4 separate regions of the Homo sapiens genome follow, and all the other regions are linked to region 1. The links are contacts of gene promoters, found by promoter capture Hi-C in blood cells and fetal thymus (Javierre and others, 2016). All regions are on one chromosome and are shown on one strand. The core of a region is centred on a gene start or on the middle of the fragment in contact, and the rest is flanking DNA. Distances in the headings are between cores, read along the strand shown. Region 1 holds the start of CHST10 (carbohydrate sulfotransferase 10). Region 2 holds the start of REV1 (REV1 DNA directed polymerase). Region 3 overlaps AFF3 (ALF transcription elongation factor 3). Region 4 overlaps AFF3 (ALF transcription elongation factor 3).

Region 1 (2,791 bases), core at 201-2,700:
AGTTTCACTCTTGTTGCCCAGGCTGGAGTGCAGTGGCGAGATCTCGACTCACCGCAACCTCCGCCTCCTGGGTTCAAGCAATTCTCCTGCCTCAGTCTCCCGAGCAGCTGGGATTACAGGCACGTGCCCCCACTCCTGGCTAATTTTTTTTGTAGTTTTATTAGAGACAGGGTTTCTCCATGTTGGTCATGCTGGTCTCGAACTCCCGACCTCAGGTGATCCACCTACCTCCGCCTCTCAAAATGTTGGGATTACAGGCGTGAGCCACCACGCCCGGCCTAGTACCACATTCTGTAGATGAGAAGACTGGGACACAGAGAGATGAGAGTGTGACAAGGTCAACAGTCATATGCAGTGACTAAGGCTCTGAATCCACGTGGTCTGATTCCCAGAGCCTTGATCCTTAAATCCTGCATAATATGCTGCATCACATCCAAGCTTCACATTTACTTACTTCTTTTCTGCCGTGCACGTGTATCGATTCAAATCCTCAAAGGGAAACCCAATGTCTCATCTCAACCACAGGGCCCCAAAAAAGGGCTCAGTAAACGTCTTCTGCATGAGGGACAGAACCTTTAAACCATGATTAGTAATGGGGCTAGAAGTGAAATACTCAAACAGCCAGCTCCCTCAATATTATTAACTCATTAAGGAGGGAACCAATAAAAAAGAAAAAAAACAAAAACAAAAACGCTTGTTCCTTGAAAGCTTTGAAAAATTGTGTGTGTGTGTGTGTGTGTGTGTATACATACACGTATCTATTTTACTTGTTTGCTAAATAGACACAGATATAGTCGGGTAGTTAACAAACATGTAGGTTGTATAAAAATAAAACTAGTTTATCTTCTTTGGGGCAATAAAATCCCAATACCTTTGAGGTTGACTCAGGCCTTATCCATTTCTGCAGGTTAAGAAGTTACAATTCTTCAGGTCTGTAAACTGGTCAGGCCGTTATCATTGTCCTTCGTTAATCCACTGTACCTAGACAACAGTTACATCCCCAACCCGGACAGCCAAGGGGGTTCTTTAAAGAATAGAACGTCCCCCTTTTACTAAGTAGGCTTATTAGAAAATGCTAGAAGTTACCCTTAACGCAAGCAAGTGGCCTTTTTCCAAGTTGGGGATTTAAGAAATTTACTTATCTATTTTTTGTATTTTTCCAAGGTGGTTTTGTGTGTGTGTGTGACTTTGTTGTTGTTTTGGTTTGGTTTTTTGCCTTTTTCCAAGTTTGGGATTTTTTTTCTTTCTCAAAAAGCGAACCTGTTTTCTGGATGGAGGCCCAGCGGGACTTGTTCCGGCCGCAGGTCTCGGTCAGAAAGAACGCTTTTGCAGCGGCAGAAAGGGAGACTCGGGATCCGGGCCTGGGGTCCCGCGGCCGCGCCCCTCCCCACTCCCCGCGACCCGCTGGAACGCGCACGGCCGGGGACGGCGGCGGGGACGCGCGCGGGCAGGCGGCGCGCACGGCCGGATAGGCGCGAGGGGGCCGCGTGAGGCGGTGCCGGCGTTCTGGCCCCCAAAGCCGGTCTAGCGCGCCGGGCGTCTTCCTTACTTCCGCTGCCGCCGCCGCCACATCCCGGGACCCGACGGGCCGCGGCGCGGAGGCCTCGGGGCAAGGTGGGGCGGGCCTCCCGAGCTCCCAGGACCCCGCGCGCTTCGCCCACAGGCCCGGCGAAGCCCGACCCGCGCGGCGCCCCCAGGGCCAGGGGAGGAGCCTAAGGACCCGGACGAGCGCCGCTCCAGTAGGGTGAGCTCGGGGACGCGCAGGCGGGTGGGTTTCAGCGCCTGGGCCCCTCTCCCCGCCGCGGGGCGCACGGAAAAACCGGGGAACCCGCGGGTTTTGTCCTGGCGAGCCACATCCCGGTGTGTTTTGGCGACTTGAAGACCTCCCTAGTTCGCGGGAGTAGCGGGAAGAGCCTTCCTCGCGTTAATTATGCAATAAGAAGGCGTCCTTGTGCGGGATGCTGTGACCCGCGGAATTATTGATATTGTGCGAGCCTACAATTTACTTCTTTCATCCTTGGCTGAGAATTTGCGTTTGTAATTGTAGATGGAGAGAGGAAGAAAGGGTTCAGCTTGGGTCCAAGGAGCATGCAGAGGAAGGCAGGGAAGAAGGAGCATGTGCAGCTTCGGTGCGAGGGGAGTCAGGGGTGGGAATGCACGTTCCCTGCCTGAGGGGCCCCGGGGTGCCCTGAGCCTCTGATCTTCGCTGTCAGGAGGCCTGTCCGAAGTTGGAGGTTGAGGCATGCAGTTCTGCACTTCTGGCTGGGAAGGTGAACCAGGTTTTCCAAAATGTCATTTTTGCTTTCCAAGTCTGCAAGGCAGGAAAGGGTTGGGCAGTGAATGGAAAGTAGTGCAGCCAGGTTCTGGTTAGCTCAGCGGCAGGACTGTCATAACGGTGGGTTTTTGTTGTTGTTGTTGTTGTTGTTGTTTTGTCTGAAAACCAGAGTCTGGGGCTTTGGGCCATGAGGAGTTGGGTTATTGCATTGCTTAGAGTGCCAGAGTGAGAAATGTCTCAGACGCTGTTAAAATTAGGCAGCTCAGTTTAGCTCTGGCTCTCTGATAACCAACCACCTCCTCCTTCACTCTTTTCAGTGACTGGGTTAAAATGAAAAGACACAAAGAGAGAAGTGGTCTTTTCCCTTCCCTCCCCATTATAATTAAGAGCTTAGTCCATCTTGGCTCAGAATTGGAATTCAGAATTCAGAATTGCTCTTGACCCTGAAGAATAGAATCTCAAAGAAATACCTGAGCAGAAAATTCTCTTCTTCGCTGAAATGAAAATTGGAGTGTT
Region 2 (2,791 bases), core at 210-2,709, 930 kb after region 1:
CCCTCTCTACTAAAAATACAAAAATTAGCCGGGCATGGTGGCGCATGCCTGTAATCCCAGCTACTCGGGAGGCTGAGGTGGGAGAATCACTTGAACCTGGGAGGCGGAGGTTGCAGTGAGCCGAGATCGCGCCATTGCACTCCAGCCTGGGCAAAAGAGCAAAACTTCGTCTCAAAAGAAAAGAAAAGAAAAGAAAGCAATTACGCAATTTGTTTTAAATTATGACGTCTTTGAAAAGTATGCAATCTAAATTCGTTGGATTAGCGACGAGAATACTGAAGTTGAAGTGCATTTATAGAAGTCTATAAAATGGCAAAAAACTGAAAGGGAAAGAAATGAGCTATTTGAGTATTCTCTGTGTTGCTAGTAAACAAGTTCCAACTCTGCAAATCAGTTTTCAAAAGAATACTGATTGTTTCCTAAGTACCTGCAAACTCTGAAGCATTTTAGGCAAGGGAATGAGTGGGAAAAAAGTATCTTCATGTTTGTGCATTACAACAATAAAGACTATTATGTAACAATGTGGAGTCTTCAAAGCGACCCTGCCAAGAGGGAGAAAGTGGTCCTTATGGACGGATTGTTTTCTGCTAGAAGGCCCTCAATTAGAATTGTACTTACGCATACATAATATAGGATATTATTTTTATATTCATAGAAAACTGCTTTCTCGGGTAACTCCAGCGCTGTACATGGGATGGGATACCGGCCCTCCGTTTACAAATACTCAGGCGCAATGCTGCCCGGGCACTCAAAGGACAGAAGATAGTGTCTGTGCCCTGCGGGAGCAGGCCACGAATCCCGAAAACGCCGTGGCGCAGTGCTCCTTCCCGCGAACCTGAGTGGGCCGTGGTTCTCGGTTGCTCTGGACATAGGAAAATGTCAGTTCATGTGTGTCCCTTTCTCCACTAGATGTCACTGTAAATCAATTGCTTAAGGAGGGAACCCGGGCGTCTGGCGCATCTTCACACAGTACCGGGGTTTGAAGCCCGGTCAGTGTCTGCACTTGTGTCCTTCCCCACTGGGGAGCCCCAAGGCGGGGCAGGCGCGGGGACTCGCTGTGCACGGAGCGGCGCGCTGTCCGAATGGCAACCGAAGAGCCGCGACCCGGTCAACGAAGCGCGGGGGTGACCGGAGCAGGACGGGCGGGCAGGCGGCGCAGTGCGTGGGCGGGCCCGCGCTGCGCTCCCCTCCGCCCAGCTAGCGAGACGGTCACGTGCCGCCCAGGCGCTGCCCCTTGCGGGCGGCTGCAGAACAACAGGGCGGGGCCGGGGAGGGGAGGAACACGGAGGCCGACGCCGGGCGCCGCGGTGCTACGCCCGAGGCTGGGGTCGCCCCGGGCCGGGGGGAGCAGAGCGCGTGCGCCGCGCGGCTGTGAGCGCGAGCGGGGCCGGGGAGCGCGCGCGGAACGCTAGGGGGCGTGGCTGCGGCGCGCGCGCTAACCGGAGGGGGAGGGGCGGAGAGCCACCGCGGAGCGCGCGCGGGGTTGGTTGCCGCGAGCGTGGGGGAGCGTGGACCGCGGCGCTGCTCAGCGGTGGGGCTGCCTTCCCCCGGCCCTCCTCCCTGGTCCCTGGCGAGGGCACTGGCGGCGGCGGGGCCGGGGTCCGCAAGGCCGGAGAAGGCCGCCGGGCCCGGGCATGGTGGTCTGGGGCAACGCGGAAGGTGAGCGACCCCCGGGCCGGCGGCGGGGTGGGGGAGGGGCGGGATCGGACACGCGTCGCCCGGAGGCGCCGCAGACCCGCCCGGCAGCGGCCAGAGCGCGGTCGGCCTGAGGTGGCGCGGGGGAGGGGTGCGTCGCCCCGGCCCCGGCCCGCGGCCGTCCTGTCGCGGCCTGGGCTGTCCACGGCGCCTTCCCCTGACGCTCGCAGCCGCCGGGTTATGTAATGTGTGACCTCCCCTCCCCTTCCCTTCCGTCATGGCGCGGCCGGCCCCGCGCCGCCGCCAGCCCCATGGGCCGCCCCGCGCCGACCCCTGGCGCAGCGGCCCTTCCCTCCGCGCCCGGCCGCATCCCGCCGGCCCGGTCAGACCGCGCCGCAAACTCCTTCCTCCTGCGCCGGCGCCTCGGCCGGCCATTCAGTTCCGCGCCATTCATTCACGCGCGCGTTCGGGCGTTCGTTCCACAAGCGTTTGTAGAATGTCGACCCGGTCGAGCCGCCGCTCCCACCCGCACTCCAGCCACAGCGTTTTTCCGCACCCCGCCTTCGACGTCCCCGGTGCATCCCAGAACCGGTCGGAATGTCCGAAGGCGGTTGTTGCTCCCTTGTTTTTCCTTGCTGCTTGTCCGTTCGCTAAATACGCTGGGCGCCGTTCCCCAACTGTCCTTCCGAGAGCCCCTTGCCCACTTCTGTACTGTTACAGTGACGCCGCTCTGGGCGCACCGAGCCGCGCTGTGTTTCGCTGCTCTTCCTACCTATTCTCAGTTTGTAAAGAAATAATCTCACATAACACTCCTTAATGTACTCCTCCGTAAGATAAATTGCAGATAATATACGTCTGCTAATTCTCTTTATCTCCACGTCTTCTCACGCCATGTACTAAGTAGAAATGGTTTCATTTAGGTGAAAATAATGCAGACTAGCACATAGCACAACAAGGGCTTGTAACTATTAAGGACTTTATGTAACAGTCTGTAATTCTGTGTATCTGTCTGGTCTTTCCGGACTTGGCACTTTAGTCTCCGAGAATAAGCCATTTCCTGTTTAGGTAGGGTAGGACCAACCATAACCTTGGTTCTTTCTATGGAGTTCTGTATGTAGCAAATCAGCCTGTGGGAACCATCTATCTGTCCACCAAC
Region 3 (2,791 bases), core at 97-2,596, 850 kb after region 1:
TTAAGGAGAAAGAGATTTTCTGCCTGAATCCAGCATCTAAAGTTTACAGCATTATTCATTCATTGTCCTCTTGCCCAACCCTATCTTTCCTGTTGACGATTTCCCAAGAGGAGACACTCTGCTCCAGCCAGGCTGGTCCCCTACTGACCTCTAAGCACACCTTGCTCCTGCCAGCCAGCGGGCCTTTGCACCTGCAGAGATTCACTCTCACACACTCTCATGGGCACACTCACACCCTCAGCATCCTCCCCAAATCTAGCCAAACCCTACCATTCCTTCCCGGCGTCATATTCAGTCTCCTCCCTGTGGCCTTCCCAGCCTCTCTGCGGCCCCATCACTAGCTCACTTTCCTCCATCTCATTTGCACTGGATGCCTCATTTTGTATTTTGTTGGGTAATCACAGACTGCCTTGCACTTTGAACTGTCTTGTAGGTGTACATTTTCTCTCTCCAAGTCTATTATATGTTCCTGGAAAGAGCTTTCGCTTGTGGAGTGCACATACCACAGAATTGGGTGCTTTAGGAAATATTAATACTAAATGAAATGACTTCATCTGAAAGTGTTATCAAGAAATGTTGCATTATAGGCCAGGCACGGTGGCTCACACCTGTAATCCCAGCACTTTGGGAGGCTAAGGCAGGTGGATCATTTGAGGTCAGGAGTTCGAGACCAGCCTGGCCAACATGGTGAAACCCTGTTTCTACTAAAAATACAAAAAAAAAAAAAAAAATGAGCCAGGTGTGGTGGTGCACACCTGTAATCCCAGCTACTTGGGAGGCTGAGACAGAAGACTCGCTTGAACCCGGGAGGCAGAGATTGCAATGAGCCAAGATCATGCCACTGCACTCCAGCCTGGGTGACAGAGTGAGACCCTGTCTCCAAAAAAAAAAAAAAGAAAAAAGAAATGTTGCATTATAGCCTACACTACCTTTATAAGCAGTTTAAAATTTTGATTTGCTAAGGAGAGGAAGTTTTGCTCTGCATTTCTGGTTTTGAAGCTATCATTACTAATGAAGTTTTTTTTGTATTTTTAGTGGCAAGACTTGGAATAGTATTTGAGTATTATGTCATTCTGTTTTAATTGATGAATGAATCATTTGAAAACTGGGGAGATTCTGCAATCCAGAGTTAGAATATGTAATTACCTACAAAGAGTAGTAAGGTATGGAACCAGGAACTTGATGCATAAGTTTAGACTGATGAGATCTTAAGAATATAAAGCTGATTTGTGGCTGCCCTTGCTGATGTGGGGAAAGAATAACACAAATTTCGACAGCTACAGATAATCCCGTAGAAATGTGTTTTGTTTTGCCTTTAGAGACAGCGTCTTGCTGTGTTATCCAGGTTGGAGCACAGTGGGGCGATCATAGCTCACTGGAACCTCAAACTTCCAGGCTCGAGTGATCCTCCTGCCTCACCTTCCCAAAACACTGGGATTACAGGCATGAGCCGCCAGGCCCAACCAAAAATCATTTTTATTAATAATTTTCAACTTTTTGTCCTATTTTAGCAAAGCTGAAATAGCTCCTTGAGGTTTATCTCCTCTCCTTTCCCCTACTCACTCTCACTCTTAAGTGAGGTTCTAAATATTAACAACAACAAAAAAAAAAAACAATTGAGGCCAGGTGTGGTGGCCTATGCCTGCCTGTAATTCCAGCTACGTGGGAGGCTGAGGCAGGAGAATCGCTTGAACATAGGAGGCAGAGGTTGCAGGGAGACTCCATCTCAAAAATAAAAAAATTAAAAAAAATTGAGAAGAGGAAGGCATGGAGATATAAGTGCCACAAATAATGTAAAAGATAATAACCAAGGCCTAGAACCATCCAAGTTGGGGATGTACCAAAAGAAGTATGAAAACTCTTATATGGGACCAGACCTACCAACTTTGATGCATATTTAGCATAGCATGGAGGAACAAGGAATGAAGTCGCCAAACCATTAGGGGTTAGAAAGAGGGAAACAGAAATCAGAGCAGCCATGCAGTTCTGAGCTCTGTTGATTGACAGCTGTCACATGGGTTTGATACAATTCTGTATATAACTGTTCGCTCACTTACTCCAAGCCAGTAGCAGTTTGAGAAAATAAGTAGGAAAAGAAGTATTCTATTTCTTTCTTCTCTCAGCTTCATAGGATTTTAGAAGTCAGAGTTGGGTTTCTCAAATAAGGTGTATAAACTACATGACAATGCCATTTAAAAAAAACTATTGTTTAGGAAGACACTGTATTAACTCTGTTGATCAGGTGGAAAAGTTTGGAAAGGCTTTGAACTATGCTGAAGCAGCATTGTCGTTTATCGAGTGTGGAAATGCAATGGAACAAGGCCCCATGGAATCCAAATCTCCTTATACGATGTATTCAGAAACAGTAGAGCTCATCAGGTAAGCACCGTGTTTTCTTGCTGGATGAGGGGAGGAGTGAGGAATGTGTGGAAGCACTATGGTTACAGAGAAAAGAATGTCAGCCTGCACCATCCCCCACCAGGAACCAGTGTTCATCCCCCCAAAATAAGAGGGTAAGGTCGTGCAAGGCGTCTTGGCACACCCTGCCCCCTCTGTCCTCCGTGAGCAAGGGGGGCAGCTGCTGTAGCCCCCAATTGCTGAGGGAGGAGGCTGAGTCTGAGTGGGCTGTGACATGCCTGCTCCTCTCAGCTAGGAAGTGGCAGATTTTGAGCCTATTTCAGCCCTAGGCTGCTTTAAAAAAAAAAAAAAATCTGGTTCAGGTTAGTATCATCTAAATCTTAGCTCCATCAGTAAATACTTCTGGAGTATTTAATGGAAGAACATTCAGGAG
Region 4 (2,791 bases), core at 107-2,606, 830 kb after region 1:
TGTTGAGTGTAGGAATCAATCAATCAGTTAATCATCTGGGAATGAGTGTGGCTATTACCTCTGGGATGGATGGCTAACTGAATACGCTGATGGAAATATACACATGAAATATGCAGAGATAGACATTGGTAATATATAGACAGATTGGAAATACATAAAGCCATCCAGGCATGCAGAGTTTACTAGAGAGATGTGCAGAAAGACTTACATAAAATTCCGTAATATTCTGTGTTTAAATAGTTGTATTACTTATGGCCATTTTTATTTTAACTTAAGAAGCTTCATTTACAGTAAGCCTGACACCTGGCTGTACTCATAAAATCTAAAGAATCATTAAACACAGACACAAGAGAAGTGAAAGAACATTCTTATAGTGCTCTTTACTTGGTATTCTGGGCATTAGTACCCCAGTACTGGGTGCTGGAGATGGGACCCCATAGACCTGGCTGTCAAATTTGTGGAGTCTCGCCCTGCTGGAGCCCTGGAGCTAAGGACTAAGAACTCGGAGCTTTGGTTTGGGCCCTCCATGGGGGTACTATTACAGTGTGGGCATCTGGGAGCCCCTGTGGCAGAGGCTGTGTGGCAAAATCCCAGCCAGAGCGAGAAAGTCAGAGTCTTTCTCTCTTTGGTGTTGGCACTTGTCTCCTGGAAAACAATGCAGACAGCCCTGAGGATACCATACTAGGTTCCTGTTATCTCATGGAAAATGGTACTTTCTGAATATATTTGTGTTGCACCTTAACACATATCTAAAGTTAAACACAGGCTGGCCTGATAGCTGACACCTGTAATCCCAGCACTTTGGGAGGCCAAGGTGGGAGGATCGCTTGAGCCCAGGAGTTTGAGATCAGCCTGAGCAACATGGCAAAGCCCCGTCTCTACAAAAAATACAAAAAATTAGCCAGGCATGGTGGCACACACTTGCATTCCCAGCTACTTGGAAGGCTGAGGCGGGAGGATCACCTGAGCCTGGGAGGTCGAGGCTGCAGTGAGCCATGATCGCACCACTGCACTCCAGCCTGGGTGACAGAGCAAGACTGTCTCTAAATAAACAAATAAAATTAAACCCAATCATGGCAACAAGGATCCAATCAAAGTACTGTTTTAGAAAAAGGTACTTTATGGATTCTAAGATGTCATGGGATAGTAATTGAAAACTAGAATTAAGGCACCAAGAGATAATAGCTTCTGCTTGCAGTTCACAAAAGGCAATAATTTTTTTTTTTTTTTTTGAGACGGAGTCTCACTCTGTCACCAGGCTGGAGTGCAGTGGCGTGATCTCAGCTCACTTAAATCTCTGCCTCCCAGGTTCAAGCGATTCTCCTGCCTCAGCCTCCCAAGTAGCTGGGACTACAGGCGTGCACCACCACACCTGGCTAATTTTTTGTATTTTAGTAGAGATGGGGTTTCACCATGTTGGCCAGGATGGTGTTGATCTCCTGACCTCGTGATTCGCCTGCCTCGGCCTCCCAAAGTGCTGGGATTACAGGCATGAGCCACCGCACCTGGCCAAAGCAAGAATTTTTAAAACAGAAAAGTCCAGGCTTGCCACTGCCCTTATGGCATGAATCCCAGAGAACACACACTTGCTGTACTTTATTCTGATACCAAGAAATGCCAAGGTGAGTGCCGCTGGAGCTGCAGTGGGAACTCAGACCAGTTGGAGGGCTAAATCCTAAGCCGGTTGATGGCAGAGCAGCTTTCAGAATTCAAAATGTTGAATCATGGCGTCGTGCCTCTCCTCTCCATCAGCTGTCAATTGTAAAACTGACAGATTTCATCCTTGCTTGTTGAGGAGCTAATGGGGAAGCTATGGCAGGGGCACAGCTGCTCAGGCTGTGCTTCGGGGAAGCCAGGTGAGTGGGGCTCCCAGGAGGCCTTGCTCTGTGGAAGTCGGTGCCTGGGAACTCATAATACCTCTTGAAATCCAGTGCTGATTGACTTTAGTTTATTCCCATACAGTGTGACAACGAAGACGACTACAGGGAGATCAAGAAGTCCCAGGGAGAGAAAGACAGCTCTTCAAGACTGGCCACCTCCACCAGTAATACTTTGTCTGCAAACCACTGCAACATGAACATCAACAGGTACGTGCATTCCCTCCAAAGTGGAAGTGAGCTGGAGAGATCTCTGGGTCTGAAAGTCACCTGCTATGTTGGAGGAGGGTCAGGCTTTTTGAGGACTACTCTGGTCAAGGTCTGCAGACTTGCTTCCCTCCTTTAACCCAAATCTTATTATTATGGCTACACATGTGCCACACATTATAGCTCCAGATACTCACGCAAGGTTCTTCTCCATAACCAAAGACCAGATACTAGTTACACACAGCTCTGCACTCCCCAAGACATGCCCTTCCCCCAAAAAAACTTAATAACTGAATTTCTAATCAATATTTTAATGGTAACCGCTAAACTCCTAAGAACACTAAGCTTATTACACAGACGAAGAAATACACACTTCAAGCTGAATCTCCATGTGTAGCACCTAAAGCAATTAATTGGATATAGACTAAAATTGTGGCCTTAGAAGGGTCCGTGCTCCCAAGGTTAAATGGCCACCCACACACTCCTCTCAAGAGGTTCCAGATGGACGCATCCAGCACTGACTCCCCTCTGTGATGAATGGCTTACAAGCAAAGCAAGATCCCAGGTATTTATTAGAAACAAGTAGCTTATCATCAGTCGTAGAAGCTCTTTCCATTTTGAAATACCACAGCACGGAAACCACTTTTCCTCTCTAAGACACTCCTCACCCTCCCTGACCGTATACATAGAATTTTGAAGAGAGATGA

What was found. The method cuts DNA at HindIII sites, captures the fragments that hold promoters and counts their contacts. A CHiCAGO score of 5 or more calls a contact.
Region 2: a contact is called between the fragment with the promoter of REV1 here and the fragment with the promoter of CHST10 in region 1, in 6 of 17 cell types (monocytes, fetal thymus, erythroblasts and 3 more). The highest score is 13.2, in monocytes.
Region 3: a fragment that was not itself captured here is called in contact with the fragment with the promoter of CHST10 in region 1 in 1 of 17 cell types (M0 macrophages); the score reaches 5.2 in M0 macrophages.
Region 4: a contact is called between a fragment that was not itself captured here and the fragment with the promoter of CHST10 in region 1, in 1 of 17 cell types (M0 macrophages). The highest score is 5.1, in M0 macrophages.

What each region holds. Positions count from the first base shown.
Region 1 is chr2:100,416,327-100,419,117 of GRCh38, reverse strand. CHST10 (carbohydrate sulfotransferase 10) reads left to right here and starts at 1,450. Exons shown (of 7, transcript NM_004854.5): 1 at 1,450-1,744. RefSeq lists silencers at 1,345-1,794, 1,805-1,954. The HindIII fragment of the contact is 2,675 bases long and covers 711-2,791 here.
Region 2 is chr2:99,488,685-99,491,475 of GRCh38, reverse strand. REV1 (REV1 DNA directed polymerase) reads left to right here and starts at 1,459. Exons shown (of 23, transcript NM_016316.4): 1 at 1,459-1,659. RefSeq lists an enhancer at 636-1,521 and silencers at 955-1,624, 1,735-1,834, 1,905-1,984. The HindIII fragment of the contact is 11,070 bases long and covers 1-2,791 here.
Region 3 is chr2:99,565,075-99,567,865 of GRCh38, reverse strand. It overlaps AFF3 (ALF transcription elongation factor 3), which reads left to right. Exons shown (of 25, transcript NM_001386135.1): 20 at 2,243-2,379. Among named protein-coding and RNA genes, the nearest start is that of REV1, 76 kb to the right of the region's middle. The HindIII fragment of the contact is 3,586 bases long and covers 1-2,791 here.
Region 4 is chr2:99,586,450-99,589,240 of GRCh38, reverse strand. It overlaps AFF3 (ALF transcription elongation factor 3), which reads left to right. Exons shown (of 25, transcript NM_001386135.1): 16 at 1,963-2,087. Among named protein-coding and RNA genes, the nearest start is that of REV1, 98 kb to the right of the region's middle. The HindIII fragment of the contact is 2,150 bases long and covers 282-2,431 here.